Linked DNA regions of Homo sapiens: regions 1, 3 and 4 are each linked to region 2. The links are contacts of gene promoters, found by promoter capture Hi-C in blood cells and fetal thymus (Javierre and others, 2016). All regions are on one chromosome and are shown on one strand. Each heading gives the region's core, a stretch centred on a gene start or on the middle of the fragment in contact. The rest is flanking DNA. Distances are from core to core; before and after follow the strand shown.

Region 1 (6,802 bases), core at 3,281-5,780, 520 kb after region 2:
ACTAAAAGGATTATAGACAAAAAAAAAGCCTAATTCTTCCTTTTTTCTATCTAATCCAGAGTCTCTCCTGCAATGTCTCTATAATTTTAACTGTCTTATATAGTTCAGGCAAAATTATATATTGTAGAATTCATTCTCATCTTCATCTTAAACATTTTAGACAAAAATATATTAGTTCCCTACTTCTATACATGCATATATGAGAAAATGGTCTGACAACCCTTAGGTTGGGACACTCAGCAGGTCATGGCATTCAGAGCAAATTGATTTTTATTAAGATAATTATAAGAACATGATTAAAAAAGTATTTTGTATCTCCCTCTTTCTTTTGTATTTTCAGAAAATCATATGAACTGGGCCTGGGGGCATGCACCTGTAATCCCAGCTCCTTAAGAGGCTAAGGCAGGATGATGGCTTGAACCCAGGAGTTTCAGAGCAGCCTGGGCAACATAGCCAGACTCTGTCTCTATCCATTAAAAACAAACCGTATGTAAAATCACATAGCTGCTCCTGAGATCTGCCATTCCATAATTTAGTTCTCTGCTAGTTCTATGGCACCAAATTGTCACAAGACTGACTAGCCAGGTGCAGGAGGTACTCACTTTTCAGATCAGCAAGTAACCACAAATACCATTTATTTGGTCCTTAACAAGATTGAGACGAAGTGGCTACAAGTGAAGCAAAATGGAGGCGATAAATACTCTAACAACTGGTTATAGATATCACATTTTCTTATGTTTATAGTTACATTTGAATAATCCTTACCTCTTTTTAAAAACTCCATAGACATTGAGAATTGATAAAAATCTATCTTTCTCCAGAAAAATACAGCTATACATAAGTCAGTACACAACTTTAGTAAATTCACAAATCTTAACAATCTAATCCATGTGTCCTAAGCATAGACAATAAAGAAAAGTATTTGAGAGGGTGCAGGGTAACTTGAAGTTGAAGTTTGGGAGAGAGATTACCATTACATTAGGAATAAATTCATACTTGACAAACAAGTGTCAACTGTCTCCACTGTCTTACCAGCAGCTCAGTCCCTTACTGCTCTTCCTGGATCATGTCCTATTGGCTGCTGCTGAGCCCATCTCCTGCTTCCAAGCGTTGTAACTCAACAGGAGCAAAGGCAAGTAAACAATCTTGAGAGGGTGTGCTGCTGAATGTTTGCCAGCCTAGAGAAGACAGAGTTTGAACATTTTTAAGTTAGCAAAAAGGAACAGGGTATATACACCTGATATAAAGAGTTTAAAAGGTTTTGGATACCTATAATTGGATATTTCCATTACAGTGTGGCTGTTAAAAAACTTAGAGAATCTTTCTCAAAGCAATGACACTCTCAAATGTACCATAATAACAATTCTAATATCTGTAGAACACTTTGCCATGCCCAAAGCATCTTTAGTCTTCACATCTTCACCGCAATAATCAATGAGGCTTAAGAGCCAGTGGCTTATATTACTTCATCTGTTGAATCCAGTGGTTCACAGTGTGGCTTACAAGAGTATCACCTAGGTAAGAAGTTGAGGATTTTGCTCAGAGATTCTGACTTGTTGAGCTAAGAGGAAACTTTATTCTCCAGGTGACTGTAAGATGAAGTCAGGATTGAGAATCATTAAGTCCCTGTACTTCATGAGATGTGGCACTAACTAAACTCATAAATAGCAAGCATTCATTCAGTATATGCCATGTCAAGGTAACATGCTAAGTGCTATGGAAAAGGTAAAACATTATAACATGTGGTCTCTGTGCTCAAGGGTTTTAATTTAGCTGGAGAGACTGGACATATACTTTAAAAGGACCACCTAATAAGATACCTACTTTAAAAACATAACCCAAGTAAGACTTAATTGGTCAAAGATGTAGTAAAAATATTGGGTGCTACAAATAAGTGGAGATGACATGCACTGATAAAAGGGAGTAGGTTAAAAACATGAGAGAAGTCCACAGAGTTCCAAGGGCAGAGAGAAAAGAGGAATGGGGAGAAAGCGTTGTTTTGAGGCACAGATACAGCTGCAGCAAATTGGAGGAGATTAAAAAGCTCTCTCTGACTGAAGAGTGTCTACAAAGGAGCACAAGAAGACTTTGGAAAGACCGATTTGAAACAGAATCTAAAGAGTTTTGATAAAATGGCTAAAGGAGTTGGTCCATTGTCCTGAATATATGGAAACAGTATTGGAATATCCTGAAATAGTATCTGGAATAGTATCAGAAGCAGTTGAAGCTCAGGTTCCCGGGGTTCTTGGTAAATGCCAGACACTATGCTAGATGCACTACATATGTTACCTCATTTAACACTCAAAAAAATCTGGTAAGATCATTATTATTATCATTATCATCATTATTATTATTCCCATTTTACAGAGTAAGAAGGGAGGTCTCTTAATTTTTTCTCAAAGTCACATGCCTAGAAATAGTAAGCTGAGACTGGGACACGTTGCTTCTTTAGAAACATGGCATCATAAAAGCCATACGTTAAAATTTAAGGGGTGTTTTGAGATATAATTCACATACCATAAAATACATCCTTGTAAAGTATATGAGTCAGTGGGTTTTAGTATATTAAAAAAAATTATGCCACTCTCACCTATCATTACTATCAAATTCTACAATATTTTCATCACTCTGTCCCCCTCGCCCCAAAAAACCCAGTACCCATTAGGAGCCAGTTTTCATTCATTCCTCCCCCGGGCCTTGGTGACCACTAATCAACTTTCAGTCTTTATGGGTTTTCCTATTTTGAACGACTTTATATATATAAAACCATACAAAATTTGGCCTTTTACGTCTGGTTTCTTTCACTTAGTGTAATGTTTTTAAGGTGCATCTGTATTGCAGCATGTGTCTGTACTTTATTCCTTTGTATGACTAATATTCTACTGTTTTGATATGCCATGTTTCCTTTAGCTATCAATGATGAACTTTTGGGTTACTTCCACTTTTAGCCTCATAAATAATGCTTCTTTGGATATTCATTTCAAACTTTTTAATTGTGATAAAATGTATGTAACAAAGTTTGCCATTCAAACCATATTTAAGTATACTATTCTGTGGCATTAAGTACATTCACATTGCTGTGCAACCATCACTGCCACCCATCTCCAGAACTTTTTCATCTTCCTAAACAGAAATTCTATACTCATTAAACAATAACTTCCCATTTGCTCCTCCTCCCAGCCCCTGGCAATCATTATTCTACTGTATGCCTCTATTAATTTGACTATTCTAAGTACCTCATGTAAGTGGAATCATAATATTTTTCTTTGTGTGATTGGCTTATTCCACTTAGTAGAATGTATACAAGATCCATTTATTTTCTAGCATGTGTCAGAATTTTCTTCCTCTTTAAGGTTGAATAATAGTCCATTGTATGTCTATACCACATTCTGTTTATCCATTCATCCATCTGTAGGCATTTGGGTTGCTTCTACCTTTAGGCTATTGTGAATAATGCTGCAACAAACATGGATATACAATGTTTATAAGTTTTTGTATGGGCATATGTTTTCAATTCTCTTGAGAGTGGAATCCCTAAGAGCGAAACTACTGGGTCTTATGGTAGTTCCATGCTTAATCTTTTGATGAACTGCCAAACTGTTTTGCAAAGTGGCTGCACCTTTTTACATTCCACTAGCAATGTGTCAGGGTTCCAATTTTTCCATATCCGCACTAACACCTGTTATTGTATGTTTTAAAAATTATATCCATCCCAGTGAGTGTGAAGTGGTAGAAGATTTAGGTGTTATAAATAATCATATGCAAGATATTGGCTTATTGCAGTACTCAAGTATAAGCAATAGTTGGAATGAGAGGGTGGCAGAATAAATGAAATAAAATGATCAAACAGAAATATTACTGATAAAGAAATGAATGGCATTTAGTAACATTTTAAATGTAAGAAGAAAAAAGAAATTCAATTATAGTGATAAAGCTTTTGAGTTTGGTTGTCTGAAAGAATGATGCTACTAATGAGATAAATAGATAATTCTAGAAAGGAATCTGAAATGACAAATTCTTGACATGATGCATTTGAAAAAACTTATGTATTCCAAATAAATATTCATCAGGCAGGTGAAGTACAGGAGGTCAGGGTTGGAGTCAATAGGCTATTTCATTTTTCTTTTTAAAGAAATGATCAAAGAAACATTATTAAGATTAGAAGAGGGTTATTGCCTGTATATGATTAGACTCTTAAATCTGAGTTCAGCAACTGACAAACCAAATACTGAGGAAGGCAGAGGAGTTTTTACCTTCTGTTTTCTGTTTAAAATAGTAAAACAAAACTTAAAAAGTAAAAAATATAACTTTATTAAGCTTTATAGAACTTGTTTTTATCAGAATTTGAGTTGGTATCACATTTTTAACTATACCAAGGTGGTGCTTGTGGTTCTTGGAATGGTGTGAGCAGTTCTAGGGGGATTTCCCTCTCTGAGCTGGCACAAGATTGGGAGTCCTGGAGGACATGAGTGTCACTACCAGCAGTTATCTGGTTGACTGGGAATCAAGCTGGCAAACTATCAAGGAGAAACCATGAATTCTAGTTTTATATGCCCAAAACAGTCCCCTTTAGTAAAAAGAGGTGATCCCCAACAAATAGAATAGTCTCTTGCTAGAATATAGTTCCTCAGTAGCCAATAATTCTGGCTTTGTTCAGCTTTGCAAAGTCTCCAATATGATAATATTCTGATAAATACAGTGATGACTCACAGGCTTATATACATGTTTTGAAAGAGAAGCTTAATGATGCTATTTTGGATCATGAAGCCAGGCCGCGGTGGCTCATGCCTGCAATCCCAGCACTTTGGGAGGCCAAGGTGGGTGGATCACTTGAGGTCAGGAGTTTGAGACCTGCCTAGACAACATGATGAAACCCCGTCTCTACTAAAAATATAAAAATTATCCAGGCATGGTGGTGCAAGCCTGTAGTCCCAGCTACTGGGGAGGCTGAGGCGGGAGAATCGCCTCCAGGAGGCGGAGGTTGCAATAAGCTGAGATCGCACCACTGCACTCCAGCCTGGGTGACAGAGTGAGACTCCATCTCAAAAAAAAAAAAAAAAAAAAGAAAATGCAAAATACAGTCAGCTTATACACTGAGTTTTCCTTCTGCCATGATACATTGAGAGTTATAAAAAAATCACTTAGAAGATAAAACGGAACAAACATATGAAGGGTAGTGCTGAAGACAGAGGTTAAGATAAGGGCCATGAAGGGGGTTAAAGAAAAATCTAAGCCGATGAGCACATTTAAATGTTCTCATTCCCACACACATATCTACTGTTGTTTTTGTTTTTTTGTTTGTTTTCTTGAGACAGGGTCTTGCTCTGTCACCCAGGCTCAAGTGCAGTGGCACGATCTCGGCTCACTGCAGCACTGACCTCCCAGACTCAAGCTATCCTTCCATCTCAGTCTCCCAAGTGGCTAGGACTACAGGCATGTACCACCACACCCAGCACATTTTTTGTTTATTTTTTGTAGAGATGAGGTCTCACTATGTTGCCCAGGCAGGTCTCAAACTCCTAACCTCAAGTGATCCACCTGCGTCAACCTTCCAAAGTGCTGGGATTACAGGTGTGAGCCACCACGCCCAGCCATATCTACATTTTTAATTGAATAAAATACACTTCACCATCAAAGTTGCAATCATTTTGAGCATAATATCATTCCTAAACATATTTTCCTTTGTTCCCTAAATTGAAGCCTATTCTATTTTATCTTTATAAACTATTCACTGTTCTATTTTTATTTTTTATTTTTTAGAGACAGAGTCTTGCTCTGTAGCCCAGGCTGGAGTGCAGTGGTGCGATCTTGGCTCACTGCAAGCTCCGCCTCCCCGGTTCACGCCATTCTCCTGCCTCAGCCTCCTGAGTAGCTGGGATTACAGGCGCATGCCCCCACGCCTGGCTAATTTTTGTATTTTTAGTAGAGACGGGATTTCACCGTGTTAGCCAGGATGGTCTCGATCTCCTGACCTCGTGATCCGCATACCTCGGCCTCCGAAAGTGCTGGGATTACAGGCATGAGCCACTGCGCCTGGTCTCACTGTGTTTTAGAAAGGTATTATCTACTTTATCTGCAATATTTTCCAAATAGATTTAGAAAAAAAAGACAATAAAAATAGCTAAAATTTATTGAATGGATTCTAAGTCATCTAATTTTCAAAATACTATCAGTTGTTTACCTTAGCACACCCTTTGTGGGTGGCAGGGCCTCCAGAGCCTGTGCTCTTATTCAACATGCTTCATGGCCTCCACAAGCTTGTAGGAGATTCAGTGAAACATTTCATTTTGGGGAAAGGTAAATAATTCTACATTTCAAAGCCTAGAGACAGACAAGTTTTCGTTCAAAAATGAAGGAAAAAAAAAAACCTCTTCTCTAAAAACCAGTCACTCTACCTATAAACATGAATATATCATTACAAGCTAGGCACCTTATATAAGAATCCTCCATTTGGGGTTTAAATGCATTTTCCTTTCAAGAGATAGATCCACCATTGATCAAACATCATCAAACACTTCCGTTACAAAAAAGGGACTTTGTTTATCATGCTGAATTTAGTCCTTCCCTTCCCTTTGTGATATTAGTACACCTTCATGGCATGTTTCTTCAAAGCCCCAGTAATAGATGTTTCCTTCCTGTTGAAATGCTGCTTTGGCTGCTTCTGTGCTTGATGTGGTTCTCCTCCAGGTTTAAATGGGATGAGACTGGAGTTCACTAATCAGCACGTTACTCACCTCAGCAGGATATGCCCACAAAGTGTTTCTCCTATTCTTATACACATGAGTACACACATAAATACACA
Region 2 (6,791 bases), core at 2,042-4,541:
ATTAAAATGAAGAAATAAGATCACCTTTGTGAGGTGAATCGGGAAAAGTATAAATGGAATCTAACCAAACTCATAAATAAAGCAAGCACAGAAGTTTTTATGTATACTTATATCCAGGGCAAAGGAACTAAGAATCTTAACTAGATTCCATACATGTGCCTAGCAAGAATATTTATAAAACAAGAATTATAAAGTAATAGATTAGAGCCGAGACTGTTGAGCCAGACCACCTGGGTGCAAATATACTGGTTCTGATTCTTAGTAGCTATAAAAAACTTTTCTGCATATCTGTTTCCTCACTTATATAATAAAATGGAGACAATAATAACTGTACCTACCATGTAGTGTGCCATACAGAAAAAAGCTTGTCACATATTAAGTCCTTAAATAAATACTAGCTACTATTATTTCTTTATAATTTATAACCAAATTCCTTATCAACTGGCACTATTAAAATATGCAAACCTTGATGGGCAAAACCCAAATTATGGTTTATATTTTCAAGCTTCTTTCCATGAAAGGTAAAGGATTTATATTGATTGAAAAGTTTTTCCCAACCAAATACTGAAAAAAAACATATTTGTTACTGAGGCTGAAAGCCAGGGAATCATGAAATGGTAAAATATAAACGTGAAACCCTTAATCCATGTGCATATCAACCTATTGTACAAAATAAGAAGTTCAACACAGTTTATAAGTATGAAAAATCACAAACACTTACTTTTCTTAAAGATTAAAATTTAAACCTGCCTAAATTCTCTCCTACATCATATGTTCAACATTTTGAATTTTATAACTTATCTTGTGTTTTATGCTTTTCATAAAACAACAGTATTTGGCTGAAAATTGTACCCTATTTTATTACAATAATATAGATTTAACCAAAACAAAACAAAACAAAAAAACATGCCCCTCAACAGATAGATAGCAGCCAATTACCTTAAATATTTAGGGTCAAAAACGATAAGAAAAACACTGAGATTTTTTCAAGCTCATTAAATACGTAATATGGGATGCAGTTAAGTCCTAGAGAACAAAAGCCAGTGATTAAAATTAGCTGTTTTCTTATCTGGTAAAGAAGTAGGAAAAGTTTTTAAGTGAAAAGCTTACAGTAACCTTAGCCACAAACGAAGTGTGTAATCTCTCTGGAGAATCAGGGAATCATCTGTTGCCATGGAGTCATAATGCCTTCAGCTAAACCCGACCTCATAATTAACAGTGATCGACAGCGCAAATGGCTAACATGTTACCAAGTATGAAATAAAATTACTGAATTTTCACAGCAAACAATACCTGTGCTTGTTTTAATCTAAATGGTTTCAATATCTGCATTCCAAGTATTTATTCTTTGTTAGAAAAGCTAATTGGATACTCAGTATTTATTTTTATTTAAAAATCACAGATGATGAAACAAAAGCTACAAGTAAAACAAGTTTAAAAAAACAAAAACAGGCCGGGCGCGGTGGCTCACGCCTGTAATCCCACCACTTTGGGAAGCCGAGGCGGGCGGATCATTTGAGGTCAGGAGTTTGAGACCAGCCTGGCCAACATGGTGAAACCCCTCCTCGACTGAAAAAAAAAAAAAAAAAAAAGGAGCCGAGTGTGATTGTGGGCGCCTGTAATCCCAACTACTCGGGAGGCTGAGGCAGGAGAATTGCTTGAGCCCGGGAGGCGGATGTTGCCATTGCAATCCATCCCCAGGCGACAGAGCAGGACTCCAGCTCAAAAAAAAAAAAAAAAAAAAAAATTGATGGGCCCACTACTACAGAAGCTCAAGTTTGAGCTGTGTTTAAATTAAAGCAAAAACACGTAGAAGTGCAAAGTATATAAAATAAAAAGAAATGATGATTCTCAAATCTCATTGACCTTTTCAGTCTTATTTTTGAAGTGAGACCTCACAAAACGATACTTTCAGGTGTAATACAAACACAATTTTTAGTAATGAGTGTGCTTAAAGCAATCCTCTCAGTGGTGTATGCTCCCCATCAGGCAGTTAAAAAAAAAGAAAAAAAAACCCGCATAGCTTAATGTTTATTAAATATGACAGCGAATCACTTAGTTGTGTTATAACAGTTTATTATCATGGATTTAAATGACTATGTTTACATGTTTAAAATTATCACATCACTAGTTCTTGCTAGCTTTTGCATTTTCTCCTGTAAACATTGTTTTTACAGATAAGCTTAGGTAAAATAGAAATACACCACCTTCTTTATCAATAATGTAGCACACAATATATTACTAAAGCTGGCATTTTCTTGATATTCAAGAATTTATGACAAGGAATGGGATCCTGGCATTAAGAATAAAGGGGAAAAAAACAAGTCATCTCATCCCAAAACCAGGTAGAAAGTTGGGATGGGAAGTACGTGTATTAGCAAACGTTTTTGAAACCAAAGCAACTTTCATGCAAATTAAACTTTCTATAGAAGTTAAAAACCCAAGAGATACTGCTGTGATGACAAAACATAAGCAAATGGCCCCAAATGAAGCAAGTCCTTTGGAGTAAATGTTAAGTAGTATTCACATAGAACTGCTTTCTGCAATCAGGAAGGGCTGGAATGGAAAACTCAATGCCAAAGAGAGAAGAGAAGTTAGTGTGACCCAAGAGGTCTTGAAGTAACACTTAACAGCAAATATCAAACCACCCCAACCAACGCCTCCAACTGGAAGCTGCCCCATTTCTCCATCAGCAGAGGAAGACATGAGGGACTGGCTAGGGGGAAACTGGGAAACGCGTACTACCGAGAAGCCCAGAGCCCTCAACCCGCACCTTCAGCAGGAGTGGCCAAAAAGGAGTTTGAGGCGGCCCCAGGGCGGGAGAAAAATCAGGACGATGATACCACGCCCTTGTCCTTCCCACCCTTCCCCCGCATCCTCAGCCCTGCAGACCCCCGAAGAAAAGACCAGTTCTTAGGGGGTCGCGGAGGCTGAGAAGCCGGCGGCCCGAGCGCCCTCTTTACCTGGTCGCAGAGGCGCGGCCAGGCAGGGAGGGTGCGTGAGCGTGTCGGCGACCTGGGCCGCCTGCGCCTTCCCGCCCAGTCCGAGCTGGAATTCCAAGGCTGCCTCTGGGAGCTGCTGCCCGCAGACCACTCGCCTCCACAGACGCCAGGAGAAAAACGACAGCCACCTTATGTGGAAAATACTCGCGCCGGCCGTCATTCATAATCCGGCGGACCGGAAAAAGGGAAGTAACGTCACTTCCTACTGTCGCACTGCCAAACGTTTCCCCCGCCCCTACTGTGGGAACCTTTGTTTTCCTGCTTTCGGAGCCGGCCAGTGCGGGAACCGTTTCCGAAGGGACCACCGGGAACAGACGGATCGGCAGGGCGGGGCGGAACGGTGAGTTATGCTGAGCGACTCTGCTCCTGGCCTCCTGGAGGCTCGAGACCCCCGCGCCAGGAGCGAGGTGGGAGAGTAGCTACGTGGGGTATTAGTTTCCTCGCTCCTCAAGGGGAATCATAATTTACGGGCGGTTGCGTGCCCTAGACTGACTGCTCTCCCCTTTCAGTGAGGACTGTGCTTCCTCCGAGGGAGTTGCGGGCCGGGACATGCGGACCGAGCATATTTCTAGGTCTAGGGACAAGGGACTTGGAATCCTGCCTCGGACTTTGTCGGAGGGTTTTAGTGACTTCTCTACGTAGCTCCCTCATTGTCTCTCATCTTTTGGCTCCCCTGTCAAGGACCATCCCCCATTCTAGGACTTCGATGTGTGATGCTTTGATCAAAGGATTGACATTCCTTTTCTAAGTGTTTGCTGTCAGCTTTCAGCCACTTGATTGGTTTGGAATCGGAGCCTTTTCTCCTGCGATTCCAGGTGTCCCTAAGGTATCAGTGTTATCCAGAACCAAGAACTCAGTGGAGGAATGAAAAAGGCAGCATCTTTAAAATAATGTTTATTGGAAGGGGTTGCAAGAGCTTGCGAAGTCATGAAGAACAAAGTTTTTTAGAGCCATTATGAAATGGCAACGATAATACTGCACTCTATGTGAACAGTTTCTGTTTCCTTCATCTGGGGCACGTGCATATGATCAACTTTGGACTTCTTTTGAGATTGCCAGGTAGGGTGAAAAATGGATCTAGGAGAAAGCACATACTTATATTTATATATGAATGCCCAATTTAGACTGGAGAGATCACAGAAGCCTTATAAGGTGACATTTACGCAAAAAACCTAGTTCGTTCATTCGATAAATATTTTTGAGCCCTTATTAAGTTTCAAGCACTAGGGAAATAACAGTGAACAAAACAAGTTCCTGCTGTCATCAAGTTTACAGACCAGTGGGATTAATGAATTAAGCAAGACAGGCGAAAGATTGTGAGAATTTTACAGATAGGAACATTGTACTACAAGTCCCCAGTCGTGAAAGAGGTGATTGCTTTGCTTTTGCTTTTTTGATGTTTGGAGTTTTTTTTGTGGGGGCAGGGGTGAGTTACTTTTGTGATTTTTGCTGAAGGGACCTTGGAAATGGCTACAATTGTGTAGAAGGAGAGATAAGACCACTATACTTTGATCACTTAATTCCAGTAATTCTATAGCCATTATTTTGTTGTACTTTGCAAAGTGGCAAAGAGATAGGCAAAAAGATAAATATAGACTCTGCCCTTAAAGTACTCAGAGTTTTGTAGGGGACATAACACTTGTGCCAAAAAAAAAAAAAAATGCTTCAAGGGAGAAAGTTGCAATACCATGAAAAAGCACTATGAGATATCCTTGAATGGAGAGACTATTAATAGGGTTTGGAATGGAGAGGGGCACAGCAGCTGTCAGTCAAATCTTCATGAGAAGTATTTGAATAGGGTCTTGATAGGATGTAGATATATAAAAATAGGTAAAGAGCTTCCTGGACAAAAAAAATAAGAGTGGCAGGGTCAGCTAGCTATAAGGCAGATCTGGGGATGATGAATGATAATTTTTGTGCCAGTTACTGAATCTTCTTAAATGCTAGGCCAAGAAATTTGGTCTTTATTTCGAAGGTGGTAGAAAGCCCTAACTTCTCAGCAAGAATTTTTTTTTTTATTTTAATGAAAAAGAAGAAAACTGGGTTTCAGGAAAATTCATATGGCAACAATGTTGAAGTCAAGGAAAATAACGAGGTTATTGCCATAGTTCAAGTAAGCTAATAAAACCTGAATTTCAGTAGTAGCAGTGGAAGTGAAAAGTAGGACAAGTGTGAAAAATATTGCCGTCAGAATCCACAGGAATTCTGATTATTTGAATATAAGGAGTAGGGAAAGACTCAGTGAAGGAAAGACTTTGGTCTCAAACCTGACTAAAAGAAAGTTGTGTCATTTATTGAAAGTAAGAGCAGGACAAGGAACTTTTCGGGAAGATAATCAGAATCTCAATTTTAGTTGTAACTGAATTTGAGATGCCATTAAGGAATCACATAGACACATACACTAAGCATTTGGAAACATGGGATTCAAATTTAAGAGATTTGGCTCGCACTTGTAATCCCAGCACTTTGGGAAGCCACAACAGGAGGATTGTTTGAGACCAGATAAGAGCAACATAGCAAGACCCTGGCTCTACTTAAAAAACAACAAAATTACCTGGGCATGGTTACGGTGGTGCATGCCTGTAGTCCTAGCTGCTTGGGAGGCTGAGGCAGGAGGATCACTTGAGCCCAGGAGTTCGAGGCTGCAGTGAGCCATGATCTCAGTGCACTCCAACCTGGGTGACAGAGCAAGACCATGTCTCAAAAAAAAAAAAAAAAAAAAAGAGATTGAAGTTGGGGTAAAACATATTAAATCATCTACCCAGAGATGATAGTTGAAAACCTGATGTGTATAAGATTACCAAGAAGAAACTGCTAGCAGAACTAAGAAGATAGCCAAGGACAAATACTTGGACAATACCAAAAGCAACAAAGAAGATAAGCCAAAGAAAGAGTAGTCAGAGATAGAAGAGGAAAAACAGAAAAGTTGAGTATAACAGAACTCAAGGGAAGAGAAAGTTTTATGAAATTGGAAGTAGATAACAAGTATTTACTTGGCCAACATTTACAGTTATTTGCTGTTTTCCAGGAACTCTGCCAGACAGGGGTTACAACAGTAGGCAAGACCAATCCACTGCCTGCCTTCATGGAACTTACATTCTAATGAGAAAGAAAGATTATTTACATAATTAACAGTGTGATTAATATTACAAATAAGTACAGAATGTTTTTGGGCTATGTAACAGTGAAACTTCTAGTTTTGTTGAGGGAATGTGCAGGAAAAACTGAAACTTGAGAGGTGACTTAAGATGGAGGTGGGGGTGGCACACTTTCTACTGAAGTGCTAAGGTAAGAAAGAGTATATTGGAGGACTTGAAATAAGTCAGATAGCTATAACAGAGAGAGTGAGAATGGCCTAAGATACTAGGTAACATTTAATGAGTGTCAACTATGTGTCAGGTACTGTTGTAACTGCTTTATATGTATTATTAATCATGTAGAGCAATGGTCCACAACCTTTTTGGCACCAGGGACCAGTTTCATTGAAGACATGGTTTCAGGATGATTCAAGTGCATTACATTTATTGTGCACTTTATTTCTCTTATTACTACATGGTAATATATAATAAAATAATTGGACAACTCACCATAATGTAGAATCAGTGGGAACCTTGAGCTTGCTTTCCTGCAGCTAGACGGTTTCATCTGGGGATGATGGGGTATACTGTGACAGATCATCAGGCATTAGATTCTCATGAGGAGCACACAACGTAGATCACACACATGCACAGTTCACATAGGATTCGCATTCCTATGAGAATCTAATTCCACCAGTGATGTGACAGGAGG
Region 3 (6,836 bases), core at 2,847-5,346, 550 kb after region 2:
GACAAATTTGTATCTTTTCATTGTATCTAATAAAGACAATAAAGGATGATCATGAAAGGATGGTACTATGAGCTCATAATATATATCTTGATTGAAACAATAAAAGGGATGGAAGTAATCCTTCATCTCTTCCCCCTTGAGCCAATCTTCAGAGGCTGTGCTGTTACACTTGTGCAATCTCCCTGTCAGGTCCCAATACTGAGAAAGCTATGCCAACTCTGGCGCCTATTCAGGCAACTGGGAATTCACACCTTTTGAGCAGAGGCTGGAAGCATCCTGGGAAATTCCTCAACTGACCAGTCTATGAGTCCTATAATTTTCATCTCATTATGCTTTAAAAAAAGATCAAAGCATTGATTATTTCCTATGAGCCTGTATATTCCAGAAGGGTAAAGATGATGGCTCTCTTCTTGCCTGATACATAGATGCTCAACACATGCTTGAAGAATAAACAAATATTTATTCAATCACTACAATTTTGCCAAGTAACATGCTGGATGTTTTATTTATGTTACTTCATCTGATCCTCTCAGTAATCCATGAGATAAGAATTATTAGTTGTTCTCATTTTACAGGTAGAGAAGCAGATTCACAAATGCTAAGGCAACCTGAATATGACATACACAGCTAATAAAAAGGAAAGTCAGGATGCTAAATTAGATCTTCCTATTGCATGATCTCACTTATATGTGGAATCTAAAGAAGTCGAACTCATAAACGCAGAGAGTAACATGGTGGTTGCCATGGGCTGGGTAGTAGGGGAAATAGGTTTGTCAAAGGATACACAGTTTCAGTTATGCCAGATGAATATTTAATACATTCTGGAGATCTAATGTACAGCATGGTGACTACAGTTAGTACTGTATGGTATCCTTGACTACATTTGAGTAGCTCTTAAGTGTTCTCACCGTAAACACAAAAAATGACTGAGAGGTGATGGACATGTGAATTAGCCTGATAGTAATAATCACTTCACAATGTATATTAAAACATCACACTGTATCTCTTAAATGTGTACAGTTTTGTGGACTGTTTACTTGTCAATTATACCTCAACAAAGCTGGAACACACACACACACACACACACACACACACACACTCTCTCTCTCTCTCTCTCTCTCTCTCTCTCTCTCTCTCTCTCTCTCTCGAAACTTTCGAGCTCCAAACACCAGACTGCTTGTTGGCATCCAACTGTTTAAGAGTTGATTTACATTGATTACGAACAAAGAGACAATGGAGATTTGCAAATAGGGAGATGATGCCAAAGATAATTCAAAATTTATAGGGAAGTTATTTAACCCCATGTCTTGGTTTCTTCCTTAGTAAAGTGAGGAGAGTAATAGCACCAACAAAAATATAGATGACATAAGAATTAGATAATCTTTGGAAAGTGCTTAGCATGGTACTTAACCCAACATAAGAACTTAATCAATAGTAGCTATTATTAGAAATATACATAGCTTGTTACGCTATTTGAGGCAACTGACTTTACTTTCCCATGCCTCCATTTTCTCATCTGTAAATGCAAGGAATGGGGTTACTGAGTCTCTAAAGTCCTTTCAGCTTGTAGCAATCCATGATTCTATGTTTGAAAATAAACTATGTTTTTGATGAAGTGTTTATTGAAATACTGGAGTGAAAGTGGTGGCAATCCAGGTGGCAATGTCTTATAAGCAGTTAGAAACAGCTCTAGTTTACAAATCTAGATCTAAAATATAAAAATATATTCAAACACACACATACATACACAGAATTAAATCTATAATTCAGGGAAAAAGATGAAAAGCTCAAAAAAGGTAGATTAAAAAGTCTGATAATTTGTTACAAGTAGGAAAAAGTTTAAAATACATATTTAAAATGTTCATAATTTGTGACAGAAAATTTATTCTTCACTGAAAAATTTATAGTCTCCTGATTTTTACTTTTTTTTCTCATCCTTTTAGGCAATTATCCATGCTAAGCACAGCTGCTGGTGTTTAGTTCAATAAATACCACTAGTTTATCATTGCATATTTCCCAAAATTACTTCTCACCTTTTCTTTCTCTTTATCATTAATCTATCACACAAAAGGGGATTTTCTCCCCGTATTATTGCAGATATAGGCTCTTCAATAGAATCCTAATGTTAAGCAAAATAGTTCTATACAAACAGTGATTTTGGGAAGTATTTCTATATGTAATAGGAATGGCATGTTTTCAAAAATAAAATGTAAATAATAAACACTTAAAAAAAAGAAAATGCAGCTCTTGCTCCAACTGTTTCTATGAAGGCATGCAGCAACATTATTAGAGATGGTTAAGTTACTACACTAGCTTCTAAAAGAGTTTGAGTCAGCTTGGTTATGAAAGAGAGTAACACTCCTCAGGGCTTGTCACCTTCAGTTCTTGAATACTAAAGTGCCTACTTGCTTGTCAGGGTTAAAAGCTACTATTTTAAGTTCAAAGTGAAAAGCTCCTTTCAGGTGATAATGATAGTTTAAAATAAACAGTGTGGGGCAGGGAAAAGCCTCCTTTAGGCATCTACCATGTTTCCCCTGCAGTCAGGCCAGTGCTTTCTTATTCTGTATCAGTATTCATGATCCAGGTCATTAAACAGTTAGTAAGATAGACACCACTCTTTCTCCCTGTATCCCACTGATAAACAACTGCAGGCTTCAGAATTCTGGAGCTGTGTGTAAATATGAAAGCTCCATGTGTTTGACCATGTGGGAAGGCATTAGGGTAACCTGGGACTCCTATGCAAGAGAGAACTCCCTTGCACGAATGTTATCATCACCAAGCAAGCTGTTTGTTTTGTGTGTGTGTTTGGTGCCTCAGCTGTCTTCTACAGGAACCATATAAAAACAGTTTATACAAAAGACCCCAAGGATTCTGTGCACTTTCAACATATTAGGGAAAATGCAAGATATCAGTATTTTTTCATTTTATATTTATAGACAGAAACTTTTACTATAGTCTATTTAACCATTTCTACCAAAGAGGATTCAGCTTAAATATGAAAAGTTCAAAACACATACACACCACATACACACACTTAGTAGTAACTGAAAAAAGACGAACAGCCTAAAATTTCCACATTGCTCCTTGGTATGCATCAGATTCAATCTACCATTCTGATATTTTATAATACACAGACAACTGTCACTCAGTCTCATCTTTATGAAGACAGCCTATGCATTGAATAAGTCAATGTTTATTGCATGCTTGCCCCTTCAAGTGAAACTACAGTACAGCCAAATGAAAGTTCTATTTGAATCCCTTTTTTAGTAGAAATTAACTTATAGCCTTAATCAAATTCTGAGCACTTGCAGCTTATATCCATATATGATTTACTGTGAAACAAAGGTCCGAGAAAGAGGGAAAATATTAATATTCTAATATAAGATAGGATGATTTTTGTTAAAGCTCGAGAGTGTTCAGTAATGGCTCTGCTCTGTGCAGGAAAAGTATACTCATAAGTAATTTCACCCAAGCTTTTACTATTTAGGCCGAGGATAATTGAGAGAAATACATCATTTATAGTCCGACACTAAAAAAGCAAGTAGATAAATCACGCAAATAAGAACTTTTAAAAATCTACAACCTACTCTCATCGCATCTTAATTCAGTGTATCAGAAATGTACAATAAATTATAAGTAATAAACACTAAAGAAGTAATATCTTTTCATATCCAGAAGGCTGCTTTTGCTCTGCAACAGAATGAAAAAATATCTATCCTTAGATTTTATTGTTAGTTAAATAAGTCACTCTTTTGGTAATTTCCTCTAAATGAGAACAGCTTTAGATGTTAAATGGCTAAAACCTGAGTTTCTATATGTGAATAATAGATTCGGTCAGATAATATTTAAATTATTCCAGATATAAAGTTCTCTTATACCAAGTATTACTTAAAGAAAAACACCTGTAATCCCAGCACTTTGGGAGGCTGAGGCGAGTGGATCACCAGGTCAGGAGTTCAAAACCAGCCTGACCAAGATGGTAAAACCCCGCCTCTACTAAAAATACAAAAATTAGCCGGGCGTGGTGGCGAGTGCCTGTAATCCCAGCTACTCCGAAGCCTGAGGCAGAGAATTGCTGGAACCCAGGAGGCGGAGGTTGCGGTGAGCCCAGATCGCTCCGCTTCACTCCAGCCTGGGCGACAGAGGGAGACTCTGTCAAAAACAAACAAACAAACAAACCAACAAACCAAAAAACCCCCAAAAAACAGATTTGGTGCTTGGTTTAGCTCTTGGGAAAAGATCCTTTATTTTAAAAAATACATATTTCACTTATAGTATTACATTTCAGAGACTCTGATTTTTCCTATCTTTAGAAAGGTAGTGTAATTACAAAAACACAGTCTATGAAAGAAGCAGTCAAATGAGCTAACTTTTCAATTACTATAAATTTCATCTTTGATGATCTAATTACAATTCTTTGTTAGGCAAGAAGGCTTCTATTTTGGATGATAAATGATGACATCCATCTCAAATGATCCTTAGATGCAATACAAAAAGAACTCAAATTCTGTTCATATTTTAAATATTCAAACCAGTCTGCTTACAGCTAATACATAGCACCAGTATACATATACCAAATATACGTGGTTAGACATTTAAATTTTTGATGCCTTTTTTTTTATTTCAACTTGCTTTGTATTGATAAAAATAAATGAAAAGCTCTAAAAATCAATTTGGGATAGGAGGCACATTCCCTAAATATAGAGACTTAAAGCTTTGTTGTTGTTGTTTTAGCTCTAGGTCTTGGTATGAAATTAAAAATGAGAGAAGGTTGAGAGAATTTACAGAGGATGGGGAAAGGGGAGAGGCAGGTATAATGGTATACTAAGGAGCATGATTAACCAAGAGTTTTCTTGAGTGTTTTCTGGTCAGACCGTTTAGTTTGGGAAGTCAATCATGAATTCTCTTGCTTTTTAAGATGCATACAAATATCAAGATTTTTTTTTTTTCTGAGACGGAGTCTCGTTCTGTCGCCAGGCTGGAGTGCAGTGGCGCGATCTCGGCTCACTGCAACCTCCGCCTCCCGGGGTCAAGCGATTCTCCTGCCACAGTCTCCCAAGTAGCTGGGATTACAGGCGCCCGCCACCACGCCCAGCTAATTTTTGTATTTTTAGCAGAGACGGGTTTTCACCGTGTTGGCCAGGATGATCTCGATCTCTTGCCACCCGCCTTGGCCTCCCAAAATGCCGGGATTACAGGCGTGAGCCATCCTGGCCAAGATGTAATTTTTTAAAGGCATTTTGTGAGGCTGGGAGGCAGGTATGCAAATCTCACGTAAATTACAAGAGCACTGTGAATTATAATCAGATCCAAAGCATCATCTGCTCATGTTTCCCCAAATCACAAAAATGGTTTGGCATGACTAGTTGTTTGCTGCAGGGCATAAAAAGATTAATCTTAGCTGGGCGCGGTGGCTCAAGCCTGTAATCCCAGCACTTTGGGGGGCCGAAGCAAGCGGATCACCTTAAGTCGGGAGTTCAACACCAGGCTGACCAACATGGAGAAACCCCGTCTGTACTAAAAATACAAAATTAGCCGGGCGTGGTGGCGCATGCCTATAATCCCAGCTACTTGGGTGTCTGAGGCTGGAGAATCGCTTGAACCGGTGAGGCGGAGGTTGCAGTGAGCCGAGATCGCGGCGCCACTGCACTCCAACCTTGGCAGCAAGAGCGAAACTCCGTCTCAAAAAAAAAAAAAAAAAAGAAAGAAAGAAAGAAAAAGATTAATCTTGTATTTAGGCACAGCTTTTGAGGCTTTGGTAGGAAAACCATGCGTTAGGGAATATCCTGACCTAAACACCTTGATCTTTGGTTCATGACCCTATCAGAGCCAGACAAGGGCTCCCGGACAATGAATTAAACTGTGTTGATTCCTCCGCCCACAGACACTCAAAGCTTACTCTCTCCACTGTTACATAAGAGTCTCTGGAATCCTAGGATGGTGTTTGTAAATACTGCTGCCACGTGCACGGTACCCACGTGTCAAATGTTGATGTGACCGCGTGTAACTGGAAGGAGAGAAAGCGTCTACAATTTCCAAAGAGAAGCCTACTATTTTTTGGCCCTAAAAATGAGCATACAGATGTCAAGGAATTATCACTAACTAAGGGTGATTTATTTGTCTTTTCTTTCTTTTTTTTTTTCCAAAAAAGAGGAAGAACTGTAATATTTTTTTCCTGTTGCATTTCTTGTAATCTAAATTAACTGCTCTACCTAATTCAATTTAGGATCAGTTTTACAATTTCAGCAATGCATTCTGAATGCACTTTCTACTTCCTCTATTTGCAGGACTTATTCCTGCTTGCTTATTTACTTCAGTGTAAACTGAGATATTATGGGAGATGAATTACATAAAAACCAGAGATATACACTAAGTAGGCAAATGATTTACAAAGTTATAATTTACACCCAATTAAATTACAACATGACCCATTCAGTATTCAATGGCTTTCCTTGGGTGAAGGAAAAAAAAGTAGCATTTTACCTCTCTTCCTATCTCGGATTTCACCTTCATCTACATTCATTATATCTTTTACAATGGGTTTGTGAACAGAAAACAAGTAAACTCCATTCCTTAAACACCTGAATTCTTACCAATACTGAGAAAAATTACAATGTCAATAACTAAGTTTTTAACCCCTAAATATAGTTTCCCAAAAACCCCGAGGATTAAGGCATGACTAATTATAACAATGCAAAAAAAATTAAAGAAAATCTGTCAGTAGTAAATTAAACTCATTGTATTTTTAAAAATATTCTGACTTCAACAAAACCCAAGAAGTGTCTTTAAAGTCACTTTAAAATGCCATACCCTAGATTTCCCATGCTCTTGAAAAA
Region 4 (6,468 bases), core at 414-2,913, 590 kb after region 2:
TCGCCTAGGCTGGAGTGTAGTGGCATGATCTCGGCTTAATGCAAACTCTGCCTCCCAGGTTCAAGCGATTCTCATGTCTCAGCCTCCTGAGTAGCTGGAATTACAGGTTCTCACTACCACACCTGGTTAATTTTTGGGTTATCTTCGTAGAGACGAGGTTTCACCATGTTGGCCAGGCTGGTCTCGAACTCCTGACTTCAAGTGATCCACCCGCCTCTGCCTCCCAACGTGCTGGAATTACAGGTGTGAGCCACCACACCTGGCCTAGTGCCAAATTTTTTCCTACTTAGACATCACTTTTTATATGCTCAAGCAGAGTTGCTTTCTGATGTACTGTGGATATAGGTTATATATACTGAAAGAAGTTTTACAGTAATAGCCTCCTTTATTCTATCAGCATACTGTTCAAATTCCTGGAACTTGGAAATACTTTTGGAGATTACTTTCAATTAAATGTTTCAATAAAATATTTGGCCAATTAAAAAGTGGAAAAACATATTTACTTTTAATCCCAGGGAAAAACCAGCATGTATTGGATGGTTCAAGTACCATCAAGTATTGAATGGTACTTGAACTTGTTAAATGTGCACAAAATGCTTTGTACAACCCTTGAGCTAGGATCACTGATTTGCTTCCACAGCTGCCCCATGTGGCTTTTTGTGACATAACCCAGGTCAGGCTGACCTGCCAAATAACTAACATTGATAAGTGCCGACCAGAAAATGTGAGCTGAATTATTCGGTACTGTCTTCCCTCATTGCAAGGGCATCAACCTCAGCATTTATTAATCTAATGTAATGCTCACTTTGTAATTAACCTGGGAGCTACATCAAACATCTAATTGTACCTCTGACAGCAAAAGGGTAAGTTCTGTTGAGCCTTGAACCTCTCTCAACATGTCTCTAGGAAGTGCAGTTTTGTAGCTATCAGTTGGTGGCTGCAAGAGAAAAAAAAATAGCAGTCATGCTATTGCAACAGTGATTACCCCAGCCTCTTCTTTCAGTTAATGAAGTGTTGAAAGTTCAAGACCCAAGTTATTGGTAGAACTAATGAGAACCAAAATACTATTAATACTTGCTGGAATGAATCTTTTAGGATTTAAAGCTTATTCAAAATCATGCTTTGATAGGACGATATTTTATATGCATTTCCTCGTTTGCTATATATTTGTGCATGCATATCTTTTTGTCATGTGAAGTATAAGCTACTTGAGAGCAAAGATGGTGCAACTTGTTTCTATACTGTGCCTGTATACAGCTTTGTGCATTACAAATGTTCAGGACTGCTTGGTAAATAAAAACAGAATGCAATCTGTGTACTTAACTTCTTTCTTAGCACCAAATTCTTTCTGCTTATTACTAAGAAGTTTTCCTGGTCCATTCTCACCTTCCTGGATTAGAAAATTAGAATAATTCCTGTAAGAAGTTTAGATTAATTCCCATGATTCCCCGACTGACTTCTCTAGAAAAACCAAGAAGTGTAGATTACCTAAAATGTCTGAAAATCTTCTGGGGCAGTCTAGATAGACCTTGAATAATAGGAATATAGCAAGAGGCATTATGGAGGTGAACTCTTTTCAGTAGTGGTTTCAAGAAAACCAAAATTTACTCTTCAGCTTCCCTTCAATCATATATGTTCTATGAAATTCAAAAAGTAATATATCTGGACATAAATTTACATAATTTTCCTGAAAAAATATCCCCACAACACTAATATTACATTGTTATATAATATGTGATGATAGAACTATGGCACTGAAGATGTCCTCAAAAAATATTAGCCATTGACTATTCTGGCTGCGTCTAAATTCTGGCCATGAGACTATTCTGGAAATGAGTCTAAATATAGACCCAAGCCCCACAATATTAAAAGATGTGCTTTAATTTGATCACCCTTAGAACTAACTGTTCATTGTATAAAAGCAGTGGGTTAAAGAGAACCAATAATCCCTGATGATCAGCTAACATCACTGCATGCCAGGTACTGTATTAAGAACTTCATATGCATCAACTCATTTAATCTTCATGATATCCCTATAAAGTAGGCATAAGTTTTCTACCCACTTTACAGATGAGAAAATGGAAGTGCAGAGAGATATTAAGAAATTTGTCCAAGGATACTCAACTAGAAGGCATGTAAGGGATTCAAACCCAGATTGACCTAGCTCTAGAGTCTTTGTTCTAACCTTTAGCACACTATGTGGCTCTTCTAAACCAAGCTTGCTTTAAATGACAGATGGAAATAGAAGTGTTGCCAGTTCCAAAACCACACTATATAGGTGCAAACCTAAAATACATGCTTCATCAAATTGGCATAAACAGCTTTTCTAATCATGTAGATATTATTTTCATTTCTTGAAAAGATGCTTTATTACAGCAGAATAGACTGAGGAGTTAGTTATACAGATTAAATATAATTTCATATGGATAGTCTGCAGAAGTGAAGAGGAAATTCATATTTTGTCGACACTCCAAAACTGTATTCAGTTTGGTAGACTTTGCTGCACTCCATGCCCTGTCATAAATAGAAAGCAATTAACTAAACTCTACTCTTGTAACAATAGCAATGGGGACTTTAAAAGGATAAACCGGCTGGGCGAGGTGGCTCATGCCTGTAATCCCAGCACTTTGTGAGACTGAGGCGGGCGAATCATGAGGTCAGGAGTTCGAGACCAGCCTGGCTAACATGGTGAAACCCCTTCTCTATTATAAATATAAAAAATTAGCTAGGCGTAGTGGTGGGTGTCTGTAATCCCAGCTACTTGGGAGATGGAGGCAGGAGAATTGCTTGAACCCAGGAGGTGGAGGTTGCAGAGAGCCAAGATCACGCCACTGCACTCCAGCCCAGGCGACAGAGTAAGACTGTCTCAAAAAAAAAAAAAAAAAAAAAGGATAAACCTCACTCCATCCTGTTCATAATCAAACAAATTACCTTCTCCTTATGCTTACATGACTTTACATAGATGAATCATCAAATGGATGCCATTTTTAATTATATATACTCCACTCATCGCTATGTTAGCATTTTTCTTCCTGTTCAGTCTTAAGGCTTGAAAGATATTATACGTGCTTATATTGATGTGCATTATATAAACATGTCATTATTGCTGAACATCTTTCTTCCTTTCTCTTTTTTAAACTATAAATATTCTGAAATGACCATCTATACACAGCTTGCCTGCCCTCCTTCTCTCCCTCCATCCCCCTTTCTTCATTCCTCTCACCTCCCTTTCCCTTTCTCTTACTCTTCTCTTTTGTTTTCTTTATTTTCTTAAGATAAAAAGTGATCAAAAGATAAGAATATTTTTGTGACTCTTGAAACCTGTTGCCAAATTATTTACCAGGAATATTGTACCAATTTATGCTGAAACCACCAATGTATAGGAGCATCATCCCTTTTCATATTTGCCAGAGTTGTTCATTGTAATTTTAAACTGAATGTAATGATAGAATGCTTCCTCATTAAGAAAAAATCCTCCTCTTTTAGGTAGGGTTCCTTTTAAAGGTTTTCAGTTTTTAGATTGTTAGAGAAGTAAATCTTTCAAATAATTAAAACACATTCAGTTACCTATACTTCTCTTTTTAGAGATAGACTACCAAAACCAGTCTATTCTCCACCATATATGCCTAACACACAAGACACATTGCTATATCTGTTAAATTACCCCTCCTTGCTTGTCCACTCAAGATATTACACAACTATCTTAGTGAGACAAAAAAAGTTCTCCTGCGTTAGCTTATTTTTTTATTTAATTAATTTTTTTTAACCACAGGCTTAATTTGCATTTAGAGGTTCCCATTTCTTCCTCTCAATGTTACCCAATAGATACCACAAAGTAACTGCTTCTGTCCAGACTGGCAGTAGAGAACTGTTGTGGTTCTAATGATAAGAAGAGCACTAACCTCTAAAGAATTCAGGGTTCTTATTTGCAGAACTAATCAATAATTAGTAATAATTTGGTTTTACACACTCTCTCTTTGATGAAGTTGTAGTGGAGAAGGATGATGGACAAGGGTTGAGCAAGGTAGCTTATGCTACATAATTTTTTTTGCTTTTTTTAAACAGCTTTGGAATTTATTTATTGCAAGATTTTATGTTATTTTTAATTTTGAGAAACTTTTTATTTTGAAAACTGCAATCCTACAGGCAGATTACAAGAATAGGACAATGAACATTGTAGATTCTCCCTCTACATTCATGAATTGTCAACATTTTGCCATATTTACTTTGTCTCCTTTTCCTTATACTACGTTTTTTCCCCCTGAAAAGGCTGAGAGTAAGTTGCAGACATCTTACCCCTAAATACCACAGCATATATCTCTATCTCCTATAATAAGACATATATATATAACCTACATACTATATATATGTATGTATACATATAACTACAATACCATTGCCACTCAGACTATTTATCATTAACATAATACTATTATTTAATATATAATCCATCCATATCCAAATGTCCCTGATTGTCTCCATGTCTTTTTTTTTTTTTTTTTTTTTTTTTTACAATCTAGGATTCTATCAAGGGTTATGTATTATCTTTAGTCACCTTTAATCAGAACAGTTTCCTAGCTTTTTTGTCTTTCATATTTTTGAACATTCTAGGCTCTTCCTTATGCCAACCCACCTCCACCCCCACCTTATTTTTTGGAATATGGAAGCTGTCTTTCTGACTGTCAGATCAATGTATTTTTGACACTATGACTCCATGTATGTCATTCTTTTATGTCTTTTTCCTCTCATATCTCCGTGCTATTTCCTTATTTTTCTCTTTCATCAGTTTTTTGGGACAACTTTTTGTTTTATATTTTTTATTATTTTCTTTTCTTACTAACTTTTCCCCTTCCCTGTAGGCTCTCATCTGTTTCCTTGAGATAATACTATTTTTAAAAACTGTAATTTGCTTGGTGTTATTTGTCTTTTTTCTAACTTTGTAGCACCTCCCCTCAAGATGATGTGCTCCCTGCAAAGACAACTCTGTTTTTACAAGTATTTTCCAAAGTGTAACTTAAATTCTCCTTTAAGAATTATACTCGTTCTCTCGCTCATTTCCTCAGCTTCCTTTCCTTTAGGCAGGTCTTAACTGAAATTCTCATTTTCCAAGTTGCCCTAAATCAGAACTTTACTTTTACTAAAATGTGTTCATTTAGATAAAGTATATTATGCTAACTTTGACTCTATGGTGGAAAAATGCATTTTGTCACATTCCTGGTTCAACATTCATAAGATTTTGTCTATTTTAGTTGACACAAACCTTGAATTTGAGGTTTAAAAGAAAAAAAAAGAGCTTAACATACCTAAGCAAATATGCATATTGAGAATGGCTATTGTAAAATGTCATTCCAATTATTTCAGGATAATAAGACCAAATACAGTCTTATTTGAAAGAATGTTAAAGCTGAAGGGGCTTTAGACATAATTAATTTACTTCCATTATTTTTCAGATGAGGAAACCGAGAGCCCAAGTTACTAATGTCACAATTGGTGGGGAAAATTCAAGTGATCCCATATCCTGATTTTCAGTTCAGCATATATTCTTTGCTCTCACTGTGTTTCAATTTAATATTTTCCTGGAAATAATATTCAGAGATATAGAAGAACTCATTGGAAAGCACTTGGAAATATGTGACAACAAAGAATTAAGAACAAAGAATTAAGGTATAGCATCTGGTTTAAAAAGATAGTCTTGCTTTGATGACTGTTGCTGCAGACCTAACATACATTGAATTATTGCTTTGTACCTGACATTGTTCTAAGCATTTTACATGCATTCATTAATTTAATCTTCACAATATCCCTAAAAGTTGATATATTATCATTCCTTTTTACAAACGCAAAACTGGAGGCACAAAGAGTTTGAGTAACTTTTCTAAGGTCATTTAGTAACAGGAAGAATCAGAATGCACAGGGCTGTGTACCTAACCACTGTGATACACTGTCTCTCTTGATTTTAAGAGCTTCAAACACAAAGGCCATTCTTTTTCTTTCACAAATATGGAAACTGAGGCACAAATGGGTTTGAATGTTTTATTTATTGTTACCCAGTCAATAAATGCAAATAGACATCCCAAACTAACTTTGCCTCATATTGAAAATTTCCCCAAATCACAAAGGTGCCATATCTTCCATTCTAATAGGATTGCCACTTCTGGTGAGACTTCCCCAGAAATTTTATTCACAGTTACATTGGTTGATCACATTGTTTCTTCTTGCCAATGTGAATTGGCAAGATGGTTGTCCATAGTTTATATCGTCTATGATTATGAAATCATTTTTCTCTATACAGAACTAAGTTACTAATATCTGCTAGGGGCCAGATATTTTCTTTTTTTTTTTTTTTTTTTTTTTTTTTTTGGTAGTTTATGCCTTTTTATAGATACACAGTATCCCATTGTGTGGATATACCATAATGTGTTTAGTCATTTTCATCCTGTTGATGGACACTTGGGTTGCTTCCAGTTT

Evidence for each region. Contacts are between HindIII fragments. The CHiCAGO score rates a contact against its expected background, and 5 or more counts as called.
Region 1: a fragment that was not itself captured here is called in contact with the fragment with the promoter of INTS12 in region 2 in 4 of 17 cell types (total CD8 T cells, total B cells, naive B cells and 1 more); the score reaches 6.6 in total CD8 T cells.
Region 3: a fragment that was not itself captured here is called in contact with the fragment with the promoter of INTS12 in region 2 in 8 of 17 cell types (total CD8 T cells, total B cells, total CD4 T cells and 5 more); the score reaches 10.1 in total CD8 T cells.
Region 4: a contact is called between a fragment that was not itself captured here and the fragment with the promoter of INTS12 in region 2, in 5 of 17 cell types (naive B cells, total B cells, total CD4 T cells and 2 more). The highest score is 6.9, in naive B cells.

Annotation. Positions count from the first base shown.
Region 1 is chr4:105,184,736-105,191,537 of GRCh38, reverse strand. It overlaps TET2 (tet methylcytosine dioxygenase 2), which reads right to left. Exons shown (of 11, transcript NM_001127208.3): 2 at 1,033-1,178. All of the region lies in intron 2 of TET2-AS1 (TET2 antisense RNA 1), which reads left to right. Among named protein-coding and RNA genes, the nearest start is that of TET2, 41 kb to the right of the region's middle. The HindIII fragment of the contact is 422 bases long and covers 4,320-4,741 here.
Region 2 is chr4:105,705,189-105,711,979 of GRCh38, reverse strand. It overlaps INTS12 (integrator complex subunit 12), which reads left to right and starts at 3,291. Exons shown (of 8, transcript NM_020395.4): 1 at 3,291-3,342. GSTCD (glutathione S-transferase C-terminal domain containing) reads right to left here and starts at 3,196. Exons shown (of 12, transcript NM_001370181.1): 1 at 2,964-3,196. It overlaps LOC124900747 (a long non-coding RNA gene), which reads right to left and starts at 5,598. Exons shown (of 2, transcript XR_007058214.1): 1 at 5,557-5,598; 2 at 3,884-4,079. LOC124900748 (a long non-coding RNA gene) reads right to left here. Exons shown (of 3, transcript XR_007058215.1): 2 at 6,590-6,666; 3 at 6,006-6,101. RefSeq lists an enhancer at 2,967-3,216. The HindIII fragment of the contact is 4,662 bases long and covers 2,185-6,791 here.
Region 3 is chr4:105,158,118-105,164,953 of GRCh38, reverse strand. All of the region lies in intron 1 of TET2 (tet methylcytosine dioxygenase 2), which reads right to left. The region is part of intron 1 of LOC124900868; the gene reads left to right. Among named protein-coding and RNA genes, the nearest start is that of TET2, 15 kb to the right of the region's middle. RefSeq lists an enhancer at 2,200-2,908. The HindIII fragment of the contact is 1,241 bases long and covers 3,476-4,716 here.
Region 4 is chr4:105,111,298-105,117,765 of GRCh38, reverse strand. No RefSeq gene overlaps it. Among named protein-coding and RNA genes, the nearest start is that of TET2, 32 kb to the left of the region's middle. The HindIII fragment of the contact is 1,114 bases long and covers 1,107-2,220 here.